Linked DNA regions of Homo sapiens: all the other regions are linked to region 1. The links are contacts of gene promoters, found by promoter capture Hi-C in blood cells and fetal thymus (Javierre and others, 2016). All regions are on one chromosome and are shown on one strand. Each heading gives the region's core, a stretch centred on a gene start or on the middle of the fragment in contact. The rest is flanking DNA. Distances are from core to core; before and after follow the strand shown.

The links. Contacts are between HindIII fragments. The CHiCAGO score rates a contact against its expected background, and 5 or more counts as called.
Region 2: a contact is called between a fragment that was not itself captured here and the fragment with the promoter of PLEKHA7 in region 1, in 1 of 17 cell types (megakaryocytes). The highest score is 5.1, in megakaryocytes.
Region 3: a fragment that was not itself captured here is called in contact with the fragment with the promoter of PLEKHA7 in region 1 in 2 of 17 cell types (erythroblasts and megakaryocytes); the score reaches 5.9 in erythroblasts.

The regions. Positions count from the first base shown.
Region 1 is chr11:17,011,687-17,016,660 of GRCh38, forward strand. It overlaps PLEKHA7 (pleckstrin homology domain containing A7), which reads right to left and starts at 2,728. Exons shown (of 27, transcript NM_001329630.2): 1 at 2,630-2,728; 2 at 2,439-2,515; 3 at 2,303-2,360. The coding sequence starts at 2,715. RefSeq lists an enhancer at 490-1,251 and a silencer at 1,136-1,430. The HindIII fragment of the contact is 14,877 bases long and covers 582-4,974 here.
Region 2 is chr11:16,810,843-16,815,200 of GRCh38, forward strand. PLEKHA7 (pleckstrin homology domain containing A7) reads right to left here. Exons shown (of 27, transcript NM_001329630.2): 13 at 2,271-2,324. Among named protein-coding and RNA genes, the nearest start is that of C11orf58, 74 kb to the left of the region's middle. RefSeq lists an enhancer at 4,216-4,358. The HindIII fragment of the contact is 2,622 bases long and covers 1,081-3,702 here.
Region 3 is chr11:16,778,310-16,782,577 of GRCh38, forward strand. It overlaps PLEKHA7 (pleckstrin homology domain containing A7), which reads right to left. Exons shown (of 27, transcript NM_001329630.2): 27 at 1-711. The coding sequence ends at 689. Among named protein-coding and RNA genes, the nearest start is that of C11orf58, 42 kb to the left of the region's middle. RefSeq lists enhancers at 441-1,164, 1,165-1,887, 2,283-2,977, 2,978-3,671, 3,992-4,268. The HindIII fragment of the contact is 9,770 bases long and covers 1-4,268 here.

The sequences.
Region 1 (4,974 bases), core at 1,478-3,977:
CTTCTGTCTGTACTCTCTTCCTAGGGGATTTCATCTAATCCCATGGCCTTGAATAACATCTATTATACCCAATGGGTCTCTTCTGTCCTCTCTCCCCACCAAGCTTCAGATCACACTATCTGACATACTCATATCTCAAATGTAAGATGGCAAAACAAGATCTCATGATTCTCCTCCACCCCAAACCGGCTCTTCCCATCTCAACGATATGAATGCTATCCACTCAGGTGCCCAAGCCCTGAGGAGTCATCTTTGCCTCTTCTCTTTCTCCCACAGACTATTCAGTCCATCATGAAGGTGTGAAGAGCCTATTTCCTAAACACAGCCTGAATGTGACCACTACTCCCTGTCTACTGTGCTACCACCCTCAGGCAAGCCACTTCTAACTCCTGCCTGGAAGAGGGCAACAGCCTCAGCTGCTCTCCTGCCTCCCCCTGCAGTGGCCACCTACAATCCAATCTCCTCACAGTGATCGTTCTAAAAACACACACCAAATCATGCCATTTCCCTGCTTAAAACCCTCCAATGACGTTTCACTGGGCTTAGAATAAAGTATGAAAATTCCTCACCCCGGCTCACAAAGCTTTGCGGCATTTACCTTTCTCCTACCTGTGACCTCTCCTCATGCCACTTTCTCCCTTGTGCACCACATTCCAGCCTTCCTGCTCCTTAAACTCCAAGCTCTTTTCTGCCTTAAGCCCTTGCCCTGGCTGTTCGCTCTTCCCGAAATGCTTTGCCAACTCATCATCACATGATGTCTCCTTCTTGTCATTCAAATTTTACTTTAAATGTTGCCTATTCAGAAACACCATCCCGATCTCCCAGTACAACCAAGCCACCCAGTCACTCCATGTCACATCACCTTATTTTAACTTTCTGCACAGTAGTAACCACGATCTGATATTATTATTTGTGTTTTTTACTTATTTTCTACTCCCTTCCCTCTCCTATTAGATTGCAAGCTCCATGAGCACCTAGAACTTTTCTGTTTTTTGTTCCCAATGCCTAGAACAACGTGTGAACGTGTGGCACACAGGAAAATTGTAATAACATCAACTGATGCAGTTATGAGCCAGAGAGGCCCACTGACAGCAAGACTCTGATGGCCCCAGCCAACTCCCCAACTTCACATACACACATATGAGGCAGGGCAATAGAACCGCAGCAAGGCCCTAGTCCTTAGGTCTGTAAATCTCACCCATCAGTATTTTCAACTATTATGCAAGAACCCAAACCAGAAAAGGAGGTTCCGGGGTTTTCTTGAAATAGGCTGCTTTATTCCTAACAGTAGTAGTTCTGACTCACAGTCGCCGAGGTACACCCAGTCAGTACTAGTCAGACCACCGTCCAGACCTTTGGCGAGCTGATTCATTCAGTGAACAAACATTTACCGAGTGCCTACTTGCTGTCCGGCACTGGGGCAAGGGGTCAAAGGCAGTGTCTGGCCTCCCGGAGCTCAGCAGGCAGAGGGAAACACGCTGCAACACAGACTCCCGCCGGAGTGGGAAAGCAAAGCCTGTACTGGCATAGGAGCCTGACCCGCGCCTTCACTTACTGCGCCCCAATCTGACATGGACTGATCCTACAGACCCAGGGTAACCTGGCTGGTGCGCCAACACTCCGGGGCTTTTGCGGAAAAGTCGCCCGTGGACTAACGGAAGCACCAGCAATCCCCCGGTTCAGCTCCGGCCGAAGAGACGCGGAGCGCTCGAGGAAAGTCATTGGTTGACCAGTTCCCTTCCCCACCCCCTCCCTCCCCGCAGGCCCGCGCAGTGGATGGAGGCCGGGGGCGAGGTTCCGACTCTCCAAGACCATCCCAGAGCCTGCGGCGGGAGAGGGGGCGTCCTCCTAAGCGAGATTCCCCTAGTCTCTCCCTCTCCCCACTCCAACCCCGCAGGCCCACACCAGGACAGAACTTCTCGTTCTACTCCTCCCACCCGAGCCCATCCAGGTCCCGGCACTCGCCTCTCCCGGCGGGGCGCAGCCCCAGACCCTAGAGGGGAGGCGTGCCCAGCCCGCACACCAGCACCCGAATCCAGCCGGATTGCAAGGTCCAGGGCGCAGAGTCTGCGGCCTCTTCCCCCCCGGCCCAGGTCCCCAGCGTAGGTGCGGCCCCCACCGCCTTCCTCTCGGAGGCCGCCAAACAACTTGGGCACACAAAACGTTGAGTGTGGCCGCGGCGCAGCGCGCGCCAACGAGCCCGGGCCGGCGGGAGCAGAGGAAGGGCGGGGCGCCCGGCGGGAACGGGGAGGGACCCCCCCCCCGCGGCACAGGTGCGAGCGCGGCGGCCCCACTCACTCACTCGATGAAGTAGCTGGCGCCCTCCTCCGTGAAGCCCTCCTCCCAGCCGCGGGGCAGGTCTGCGGAAACGCCAGAAAAGTCGGGTCAAACTTGGGCCGCCGCTGCGCGCGCCCCCCACCCGCCGGCCCGGCGCCCACCTGAGCGGATCATGTGGCCCGAGTTGACGGGCTCCCCGGTGCGCGGATGCAGCCAGGTCGTGCAGCGGAGCTGGTCACTGCGGGCAGAGAGGTGCACCTGTTAGCGCCGCCACAGCCCGCCGGGTGCCCGCCCGGCCCCCGCCCCCGCGCCCCCACCCGCGTCCCCGCGTCCCCGGGTCCTCGCGCCGCACTTGATGAAGAAGACGCGGCCATCCCGGCACACCCCGTAGGACCAATGCTCAGGTAAAGTGTCCCGCCCGACCGTCGCCGCCGCCATGTTCGCCGAGCGCGGAGCCGCCGCGGGGTGGGGGGGAGGGGGCGGGGGCGCGGGCAGGGGCGGAGGCGGGGGCGGTGGCGGGGGCTCGGCCTGCGCGTGGCCCGGCGGCGCCGCGAGGCGCTCCATCCAGGCGCGGGCTCCTGAGGGAGCGACCGCCCGGCCGGGTCCTGGCGCCCGGAGTTCGCAGCCGCTCCGGCCAACCCAGCGCAGTGCCCGCGGCCTTTGTCCCCGAGCCTTCCCCGCCCCCAGCCTGCTGGCACCGGCGCTCCCCTTTGCCCCCGAGGCCGGGAGACCCGGGCGGCGCGGGGGGCCGCTGGCGGGGGCCGCTGGCGGGCGCGCCTGGGCAGCTTCGGGGCGCGCGGTTGGACCCGACCAACTCCGAAAACGGCGAGCGCCCGAACGCTCAGTAAACCCCAGCCGACCCGCACCACAGAACTTCCCGACCCGGGAACTCCGCTTGTGTGTGAACCAAGTTAACACTCAGGTTCCTGCCATATTCCCAGCCTCCTTCTCTTCCCCTGTAAGGTTAATCGAGTCCACACGGGATTGTTGTGTAGATTAAATGAAGTAACAATCGCATAAAGTGCTTAACCGGACCATGGCATGTAGTAGGTGCTCTATCAACGGCAGGCCGAGCGCGATTTCATTTTCCCAAGTTTTCAGCTGGGATGTGAAACAGGAGGGAGCAGGGTTACCGCCACACACCACTGAGGTTGCAGGGATCGCAAGCTCTTGCCTTCAGTTTCTGTCAAGTAACAGAAAAAAGGGGTTTTGAGGGCTCGGCAGCACGTCCATCTCTGGAAGAGCGGTGGCCAGGCGGGGCCTCTAGGGGGCCCTGCAAAGCTCTTTGCAGTGGCGGCACCCTCTCATATTCGGGTCTTTACTCCTATCTTATCTCCTCGGGGAGCCCTCCCTGAGCCCTCTGCAAAGAAAATCCTTCCCCTCCTTCCCTCGCTATTTCATTACTTGTTTACATTTAATTGATATTTGTGTTTGTCTTGTTTGTTGTATATTAGTTCCAACATGTCAGCTGGATGAGAGAAGGGGCTTTGATCTACCTCATACACTGCCTGGTCTCCAATGCCTGGAACAGCACCTGACTCATGTATGCATTACGCATTCAATAACTGTAGGATGGGGTGGGGCACGGTGGCTCAGGCCTGTAATCCCAGCACTCTTGGAGGCCGAGGCGGGTGAATCACTTGAGGTCAGGAGTTCTATTCCAGCCTGGCCAACATGGTGAAACCCCGTCTCTACCAAAAAAATACAAAAGCTAGCCGGGCGTGGTGGCGGGCGCCTGTAATCCCAGCTACTCAGGAGGCTGAGGCGGGAAAATCGCTTGAACCAGGGAGGCAGAGGTTGCAGTGAGCCGAGATCGCGCCGCTGCCCTGCAACCTGTGCAACAGCGAGACTCAGTCTAAAAAAAAAAACTGCAGGATGAGTGAATGAAACATACTCCACACTCAGACTCCCGGCCACACACACACACACACACACACACACACACTGAGCAAAGACAGAGCAGCAGCTGGGCTCCAGCTGTTGTCAGGCCCAGCCTTCTCGGGACATAGGCTCTGATTGATGGGAGGAGGCGCGCCTGAAAGTGAGACTGTATGCAATGTGAGCACTAGTTATTCAGAAAGGTGCCCAAACAGGTGGAATTAGGCTGGACCCTGAAGGACTGGTTAGGTTTGACTGGGAAAAGAGCACTCCAGAGGGGAGGGATGGGAGAGCATGCACATAATTTTGGGAGGGCTGTGAGATGTTGATGAGACCATAAAGGGGCCCTTCCTTGGGAACAGACAGTGGTGTTGGGGAAGGAGGCATTTATGAGTTAGAAGAGGTAACTGGTTGCAGAGGACGGGGGACACCTGTCTGAAGGAACCTCCTGCCTCTGAGGAGGTTGTTGAGCAAATGAAAATAGGAAAGCGGTGTTTTGCTAGCTAAACATTGATTTTAAATAATACATTAAATGGGCAAAGGGTATGAACCCACAGTTAATAGAAAAGTAATACAGATAACTTTTAAGCAAATGAAAAGATACTGAGCCACTTCATAATAGAAGAACTGCAACTTACGGTGAAATACTATTTTTTTAGATGTCAGATTGGAAAAGATAAATTAGAAAAGATATTGGCCAGGCGTGGTGGCTCACGCCTGTAATCCCAGCACTTTGGGAGGCTGAGGCGGGTGGATCGCTTGAGATCAGCAATTCGAGACCAGCCTGGCCAACATGGTGAAACCTTGTCTCTACTAAAA
Region 2 (4,358 bases), core at 1,142-3,641, 200 kb before region 1:
AGAGCCGCACCCAAATACTGACACCCGCTAGCTGCTGTGTAGGCTTGGGAAACTCATTAGCCTTTCGGAGTCACGGTCCATTAAAAGATGATACCACCACTTCCCTTACAGGGCCACTTTGGAGGTAAAATAACTTAATAGAAGTAAAATGCAGTGACTGGCACACATTATAACCCCCTATTGTTATTAAGCTTCTGTTGGAGTCGACACTCAGGGACTCTTAGTTCTGCTGTGCCATTCTGTGGCTCAGTTTCTCCCTCTTTAATCCCGCATAGCTCAAATTCTATGATCTTGAAATAAAACAAACCTGAGGCCAAGCATCACTCCAGGACCAACTGTGAGTTTCCACTGTCACATACAAACAGGAACCAGAAGGCAGCTATTTCTCACTGCTCTTGCTCAGGTGCATTTAGTTCCCTCTGGCCCCGTGCACTAAACACTCTGGTATACCTGTGTTTTATACTCACCTGTGCTGCTGGCATGCCAGGCCTCTCCCATAGGCCCAGGTGCACTATGGATGCTCTACAGGTATGTCTGAGTGGACTGTTGGGCCCTGGGTCAGGGGTGACAAGAACTATGCAGGCAGCTGCTGACTGGCTGTCAGGGAGGCTGAGGAACGGGGATATGGTGCTGCGCAGGGCAGGTGGAGGCTGGGGGCTGCTGGATCTCTCTCCATAGGCATGGTGGGAACAACCCTGTCTGTCCCCACAGGCTGCAGGAGGATGGGCTGGGCTGCCACATTTGGTCCATACAGCTATGCTTGAGCATTTTGAATCCTGAGGAATTACCACCATACTTAGAGCAGTCACTCAAGCTCTGTGTGACCTGACTGTCAAGTGAGTTAGACAGTCCTGGCCTTGAGAGAAAGCTCCTTGTTCTCCTCACATGCTAAAGCCAGGTCTTTTTGCTCATAGCATCCACCTTCCTTCCTAAAGCCTAGGATAGAGTCAACAGCCTGCATGACCTAGTGCCACCTCCCCTCTGCTGCCCTGGCCACAACCACTGTGCCCTGGCTCTCCTTGGCTCTCACTGATCCTTCCCTTTAAATCTCAACCAGCCCCAGCACCCCTGGCTCTTCAAAGCTTCAAACACATGCCACCTCCTCCCAGAAGCCTCTCCAGTGTTGTAACCCACAGAGATTCTCACCATCTCAGCTCTGAGAACCAGGCCAAACAGATCTTTGTCTAGTCATTGTAGAGGAGTCTGTTATTTGGGGATAATTTCTTTCACCAACCCAAGACTATCTGGAAGTATCTCAAGACCAGACAGACTCAAATTTTTTTCTGCATCTCCCCATGTCATCTGGGTAACACAGCAAGTGTTCAACAGACACAGAATTGCACTGGTTGATTTCTAATCAAAAGCCCTGATCTCCTTTCATTGTGGGGAGACCCCCTTTCCATCTTCTTCCTTAGGACCTGATGTTCATACACCTGCTTCTATGAGGCTGGATGAAGATCCCCAAGTTAAAAATATCCCAAGCCAGGTACACTGGAGACTGTAGGGAGGCACGCCACCCCTCGTGGCAGTCACCTGAGTGTCCCATGGCCCCTCACCCACCTTTTCAGACCCACAGCTGACTAAAGGTCACATTCCTCCAGTCTATTTCATGGCTCAGGCGTAAGAAGTGCTTTTCACAGTAGGAGCTTTCAGAGGACTGTGGGCAGGGAACAATAGGCCTCTCTTCCAGGCAGAATGCCTCCTGCCTTCTCTACAGGAGCTTTCTTGGCTCTCTCTGTGCTGAGAAAGCTAATTTAGAGCCTGAAGCCTTATCACCTACAGGGAGGGGCCCAGCCTTCACCTCCTAAACCGAGATGGGAGACTACCGGTGAGCCTCAAAGCCATGCGATTCCATGTGGAGCCTGCTCCCCTAGCAACAGAACCAAAGAACCCACCACACCACTTGTGGCTGAAAACCCACATTAGTGAACCAAACATACACCCCTGCCCCCACTGGAGACTCCGAAGAAGCGACTGGTTGCTTTTGGAGGGACCTTTTTGTTCTGACCAAGAGAAGGAAGAGATCAAGGTCTCAAGCCCTCATTCTGTAAGCCAGGGACCTCACAACAAAATTCACAAGAAACTGAAAAAAGGCAGAGTTTTAGTCTGTAAGAAATAAAGTTCTTCTGATTCAAGATGGGAGACATATTGATTTAGAATTCAGATTGGATAAGACCTGTCTGGCCTTTGGCTTTGGGCTTGGCTCCAGTGAGGTGACACTCTCAGAAAGGTGAGTATGCAAGGAAGGCAGGAACCCTGATGTCACTTACCTTTAGATCCAGGTACTCCAGGTCTTTCTTCAGCTGGAGGTAGGTATCATCAGCCTTCAAATGAAGCAGAGAGGAAAAAACACAGTTATGAACACCAAGAGTTTCCATAACTCGAGGTTTCACATGTGAATTATTTACATCGTGCAGCTTTGGGAACAAGGAACCACAGCAGACCAACACATCAGGGGCCACAGAGGAAGCACAAATGTCTCGGTGCAGCTGAGAGCCGTCTTTCAGCAGGGCGGATCTTGCAGGTCACTGTGGGGAAAGTCAGCTTGTCCCCCACTGGCTAGGGGAAGAGTTTGGCAGGGAGGATCCTACCCCAGGGCTAGGGTAGCTGAGGCAGTGCTGTGCTCCCAAGATAGACCTGGGAGGTCCACCTGGAGGAGCATATGCCACACCTGAGCTAGAGCGCATCAGTCATCATCACTCCAATTCCATCCATCAAACCTTTGGTCTGGATCACTTCACATGCATGAAGATGAAGCTCACTGGTGTGGGTGGATGCCTTGAAGAGGCAGGGAGATGGCCTGGGTGACCCAGGAGGTCCCAATACGACCTTGGTTTCCAGAATGATAACCACCAGCAACTGCTGGAAATTTCCTGCAAGTTTGGTTCTTTTTGCTCACCATGGAGCCAATGTAGCCATGTCAGGAGCTACCTGAGGCAGGTGCAAGGTCAGACCTATCTGCTTGTGGCATCTCTGACAATCTATCAAGTTCTTCAGTATAATTACCAGAAACAGTGAAAATAAGAAAAAGACTCTTTGATTTCCCAAAACTCATGCTTTCCCGTGTAGCAGATCACAGAAGCTAACTGTGAGGCAGAGGAGCTGTGAAAGCTGTGAAAGAAAAATAATCCAGGCACCATCTTCTCAGCAGACTAAGAGGGTCACAGCCAAGCAAGCTAGGGCCGAGGCAGGTGGCCTTTGCTTACAGCTCTGAGGTAAGACAGTCACACAGACAAACCACACGAAGAGTTGAGGCAGGGCTCTTATGCATGGGAATGCCTGAAGGACAACTGTCAGGGGCACTAGTGGCTTGCAAGGTCTTGTGTCCCTAAACTAACTTCTTACCCATCTATACTTCCCAAACAGCTCAGTCCCTACACACTTGCCATAGGAGTAAGACAGAACAGAAGAAGGTTATTCAAGATCACTTAGATTCACAACTGATGATAGTTTTTCACTGACATTCATTTTTCTGAATACATTTCCTAAATCTCTCAAAACTCACTAAAACAGAACAAGGAAGGAAGGTAACAGTCCTGTCACCTTCCTCATCTGTCCCCTGCCTACCTCTGTACAGCCTGGAGGACCAGCCTCGTTGGCTGAACCTATTTTTGCCTGAGGACAACCCCAGGGAGGGATCCTTTTCTTTAATCCTTCTGCTCAAGATACCCGGGAGGGCAGCCCCCTAGCCAGTCCTTGAGAAGCTTGCCTGCAAAGCCCAACGTTCTTGCAACAGTTTAGAACATTGTGTCATGCAGGCCTTGGATTTTGGCTGCAGCCTGCATGCTTCTAGCTGAGGGATCCTGAGCAAGTCACTTCCCCTTCTGGTTCCACTTGCCTTGTGTGTGATCCTTACTCCTCTCCTACCTAACCTCTTCCAGCTTACTGTGAGGTTCAGCAAGATATGAGATGAGAAGACACTCTGTGAGGCAGCAGGGCACCATCCAGATAAGAGAGGGCGCCCTGCATCTCCCTCCAGGCTGACGCATATGTGCCTTTCCACATCCCAAGCAGTGGCCACGGGGGCAACAAGGCTGTCAGCCAGCACAGCCCTTTGAACATGACCATACACCAGCCTGGCAGTCACTACTTACAGCCAGAGAAGCGACAGTTTAGGGCCCCTACACCACATGCAGCCCCCCTCCCCAGTGCCAGAAGGGTAGGCTCAGCTTCCACCACCACAGAGTGTCTGGCAGTAGCATCCAGAAGCAAACAGGCAGCGAACACGCGAGAGCCAGAAAGCACAGACAGACCAGAGCATGGGCACGAGCGAACGCGAGCCAGCATGTCACTCCCTGCCCCCGGCCCTGAGAGGAGCCCACCAGTGCTGACCTGGCAGGTGGGAAAGGTCAGCTGGT
Region 3 (4,268 bases), core at 176-2,675, 230 kb before region 1:
ACAAGAGCCTTTTGCTGGAGGAAGCCTGGGGGCAGGTTGTGGGCCCCAGTCCTCTTGAACACACTGTTGCCCCTAAGCCAAACCCAAGGGGCAAGGCACAGACTTGGGCTCCACGTGTGATCCTCGTGGAGTTTCACACAGAGCTGGTCATCAGGTCAGGGACAGCTGATCTCTGCAGCCAAGGGCCCCTCTTCTCCCAGACAGCACGCCAACCAGCCTCTTGCTGGAGTCTACTGGGAACACCTCTTTAAATCTCACTTTCTCCTGAGGTCATTGGAAGTTGGACTAGCCTCGGCTTGCCCCGCCCTTCCTGCCCCCACAACACCTGTCACCCAGAAGTACCTGAATCTGTACGTGCAGCTGCAAAGTCCTGCATCCTCAACCTTCCTGCCACTCAGCCCTTGAGGGGAACATTAGAAAATAGATTCCGATTCTAAAATACAGTGTATTTTACAGTGTATATCAAAAGTGCCTTTGCCATTCATATGTAGAGAGGAGTCTGAGCTAAACTAGTGGGTGCATATTAGGGCCTGGCCTGTGGTGAACACCCGCAGTCGGTAAGCTGCTCCTTCCTCCGGCCGGATTCCCTGCTCAGCTGGAAGGGGTTTCCTTGGGGGCAGAAAGGTCATCTCCTTGGAGGAAGCTGGTTCCACTGGGCCCCTGGCTCCAGGCTTCTTTGCATGCTGGGTCACGGGTCAGTCACTGCCTGGGCTGGCAAAAAGCACAGGAGACAGTGAGAGGCTGGCATCCAGGGAGCAGGCACGTCTGCACACACATGATGGAATGGCAGATAGGCGGACAGGCAGAGCAGCAGAGCAGGGGGCTCTGGCAATGCGGCCGCTGCTGGGGGACCCTCAGCTTCCAGGACACATGGGGCTCTTGCCCCACCCTCCCTGCACCCCTATTCCACTGCTAGACACATGCTGGCCCCTAAATTGGGTCCCCATCCCGACAGGGCAAAGACTCTAATAAAGGTGCAGTCTGGCCCTGCCCTTCATTCTTTCAATGTGGGTAGCGCTCTTGGCCTCTGTGGGCCTTGTTTTTCTAACCTAAAAAACATGGTGGTCATACCCACTTCTTAACAAGGATGCTTTGAGAGTAAGAAGAAATGCAGTACTCCAAAGAGTATAATAGGCCAATCTTACAGCCATGGGGGCACCAAAACCCAGGAGGAACAGAACCTCTCTCCTGCCTCTCTGTGACTGAGCGCTGTTACTGTGCTCAGATCTCTAGGAGAAAGCCACACCCTCAAATGTGGCCTTCACAATGGGCGTGGCTAGAGCACTTCCCTATGGCTCCTCAACCACGGGGCCTCTACTCCACACCTCCTCAGAGCCTGGCCCAAGGAGGCTGACCTCTTCCTCTCATGCTCAGGCTGGCGGGGACCTGCTGACTCTGCTGTGAGGCACGGGGAGCACCCAGGATAGACACCTGCCAAAAAATCATGCTTCGCTCCCTGCAGCACAAATACTCTCTCCCTCCTTTCACTTCTTTCTCCAAACACCTAGAGCTGCTCGGGGCGGCCCAGATGAACCCATGAGTGGTGATGGGGAACAAAGGCTCTGAACTCACATCAAAGGGGTTCAAACCCCAGCACTTAACAAGCTGCGATTCCTTGCGCATATCCCTCAAGGCCTCTGAGCTTTTGTTTTTTCATCTCTAAAACGGGGAGGGGGGGGGGAATATCTTCATAGGGTTGTTGTGTGGATCGAAAGAGATACTTAGCACAATGCCTGGCACACAGCAGGCACTCAACAATGTTAACCACAAGTATACGTAAAGGAAGGAGAGGGGAAAGCCCTGCAAAATGATAGTGGGATGGGATGTCAGGGTAAGGACTGCCCAGACTGGTAGTCTGACCTTCCCCTGTCCAGGTGAACCGCTGGGCTCAAAAGCAACAGGCCCAGGCCAAGAACTCACTTGAGACTGGACCAGATGCCAGCCTCCTGTTTCAGGGCTCCCTCCTCATCCCACACTGCCTCTCATCACTAGATGCCCACATGGGGAGAACTTGGTAGGGTTGGTGCCAGAGCTTTCTGCCTGGCTGAGGGCCAATTTCACATTGCCCTGGGCTTCCCTTTCTCTCCCTCTTAAAGTGCCCAGTGACCAAAAGGGCAGTCCCAGTCTCTGCGCTGACACCAATTCTTTGTGACCTGGAGTGAGCCCCAGCCCCTCACTGGGCCTCAGTTTCCTCATCTGTAGAACTGGACTTTTCCCAATCTTACAGTTCTTCAATTTCTTTGGCCAAAGCCCTGAAAGGCCAAGATCTAACTCTTCCTTTCCAGCCCCCCAAGGCTGGCAGTGTGGTCTGCACTGGTTCTCGGGCATCAGGGTGCCCTACTGAGGAGAGCAGGGGATGGGGGCACAGTTCCGGTTCTAGAGATTTCATGGAGGCAGCAGGGTGGATTGCTCAGTCCCTATCGTATTAGAGCCACTGAGGATTGAGTTCCTAAAAAGCATCACTTTCCCACCTGCCTACCAGTCAGAACAGTCCCGCCAGCGGCCGCTTTGCCAGTGGAAGGAGGCATCAGCAGGTGGCACTGCAATCACCTCAGCACAGCAGGGAGGTGAGGGGCTCAGCGCTAGGGAGGTGCAGGAAGCAGGCAGAAGCACACCAGACAGGGGCTCTTACTTGGAAGGTGTTAGACAAAGGTGTAGTGGAGTCCGTTGGTAAAAGGGGGGTAAGGTGGCACCGTCCTGGAAGACAGGGGGCCTTTAGGCGGGAGGAGGGCCAGCTGCTGTGCTAGATGGGGCACACAGGAATTAAGCGGTGTGTTAGACTCCTCATCAGCTCCTGCAGCACCAGATGCCCCATTTGGCAGGCTGGGGTGGCATGGGCCCTGCTGCCCACCACGAAGGGCCTGGGCTTGAGGGTGAGGGACAGATCCACGGGGCCTGGTGGGGAACCGGATGGGTCAGGCTGCAGTTCCTGGATATGTTTCTGAGATGGAGAGAGGCATCAAGAGTGAGGAAAGGCCGCAGCAAAGATCATCCCTGAGTAGGGAGGAAGAAAGGCCCTGGGAACTGGCCGCAGCATGTTAGGGCTGGGAGCGCTCATCTGCTGGCAATAAGGAGGCCGAGGATGGCAGACCCCCTCAGGGTTAGAGCAAGCAAGGCGAGAGGAGGGCATGGTATGGTGGGGGAGCCGCCCCTGCTCGAACCCTCCCCAGGAGAAGCTCAAAAGCTGCTAAGATGAACCCCTGGGTCATGAGAAGGAGAGGTCTGGATGAGCCATCTCCTGCATCCCTAATCCCAGAACACCACACCGGCCACCTCTCAGCCCATTCAGCATGTGCTCGAAGGGACAGAGGACAGCCAAGATTTCAAGGACTCTGTGCAGGATCAGGCTGTGGGGGACAGAGAACAGGTTTTGACTAAGACTATGGCCCCTCCCCTTGTTGCCAGTCACTCTCATGGCCCTCTGGGGCCACAGCAAAGCTCTGATCTCCAGACAAGACTCCCCAGGCCCAGGCATCTGAGGACCCTGCCGGCCACATCCTTGGCTACTTCTAGACACTTTGGCCAGGGTTGGAGAATTGGTAGGGGCCATGACACCACTTCAGGCTCTATGGCTGTTCCCTCCCCAGAAGAAGCACACCTGGCCAGGAGCACCACCCAGACACACAGTGGCCTCTGCACTGGGGGAGAAATGGTACTGGGTGAATTGTGAAGGCACAAGGCACACACAAGCAGGTGAGCTGTGAGTGGAAGGAGGAGCCTGCGGTCTCCTTCCTGGCTGAGAGAAAGAGCAGCCCTTTTATACACAGACACACACACATACACACAGTCACACACACACAGACACACAGACACACATACACACACACATAGACACACATTGAGACACACGGACACACACACACCCACACACACACGTTCTCATCCCATGGTGTTATTTTTTTCCAATTGGACTGCAAAGTCCCACTTTCCAAGTCCTGTACTTTCTGGCACAGTACACTGTGATGAGGTGAACACTGGCTTTAGTTTAGAGACGAAGGCAGGGGGCCAGGGAAGGCAGGAGGGGCCCCCTTCTGCCTTGCCCCAGCAAGAAATCCAAGCATCAACCACTTTCCTGCCCCCTTCTTCATGAGGTCAGAAACCTTGGCCCCTTGGCTCAGCACCTTGAAAAACCTGTTCTTAGCTCATAGTCTCAGAGGAAGTGGGGTAGCAGCACCACTCCTCCTGGGACCTTTTTCCCCAGACACTTCTGAGCTTCTGGGCCCCCTTGGTCTCCTCCACTGTGTGGCCTGCTCCACCTTCCCTTCCAA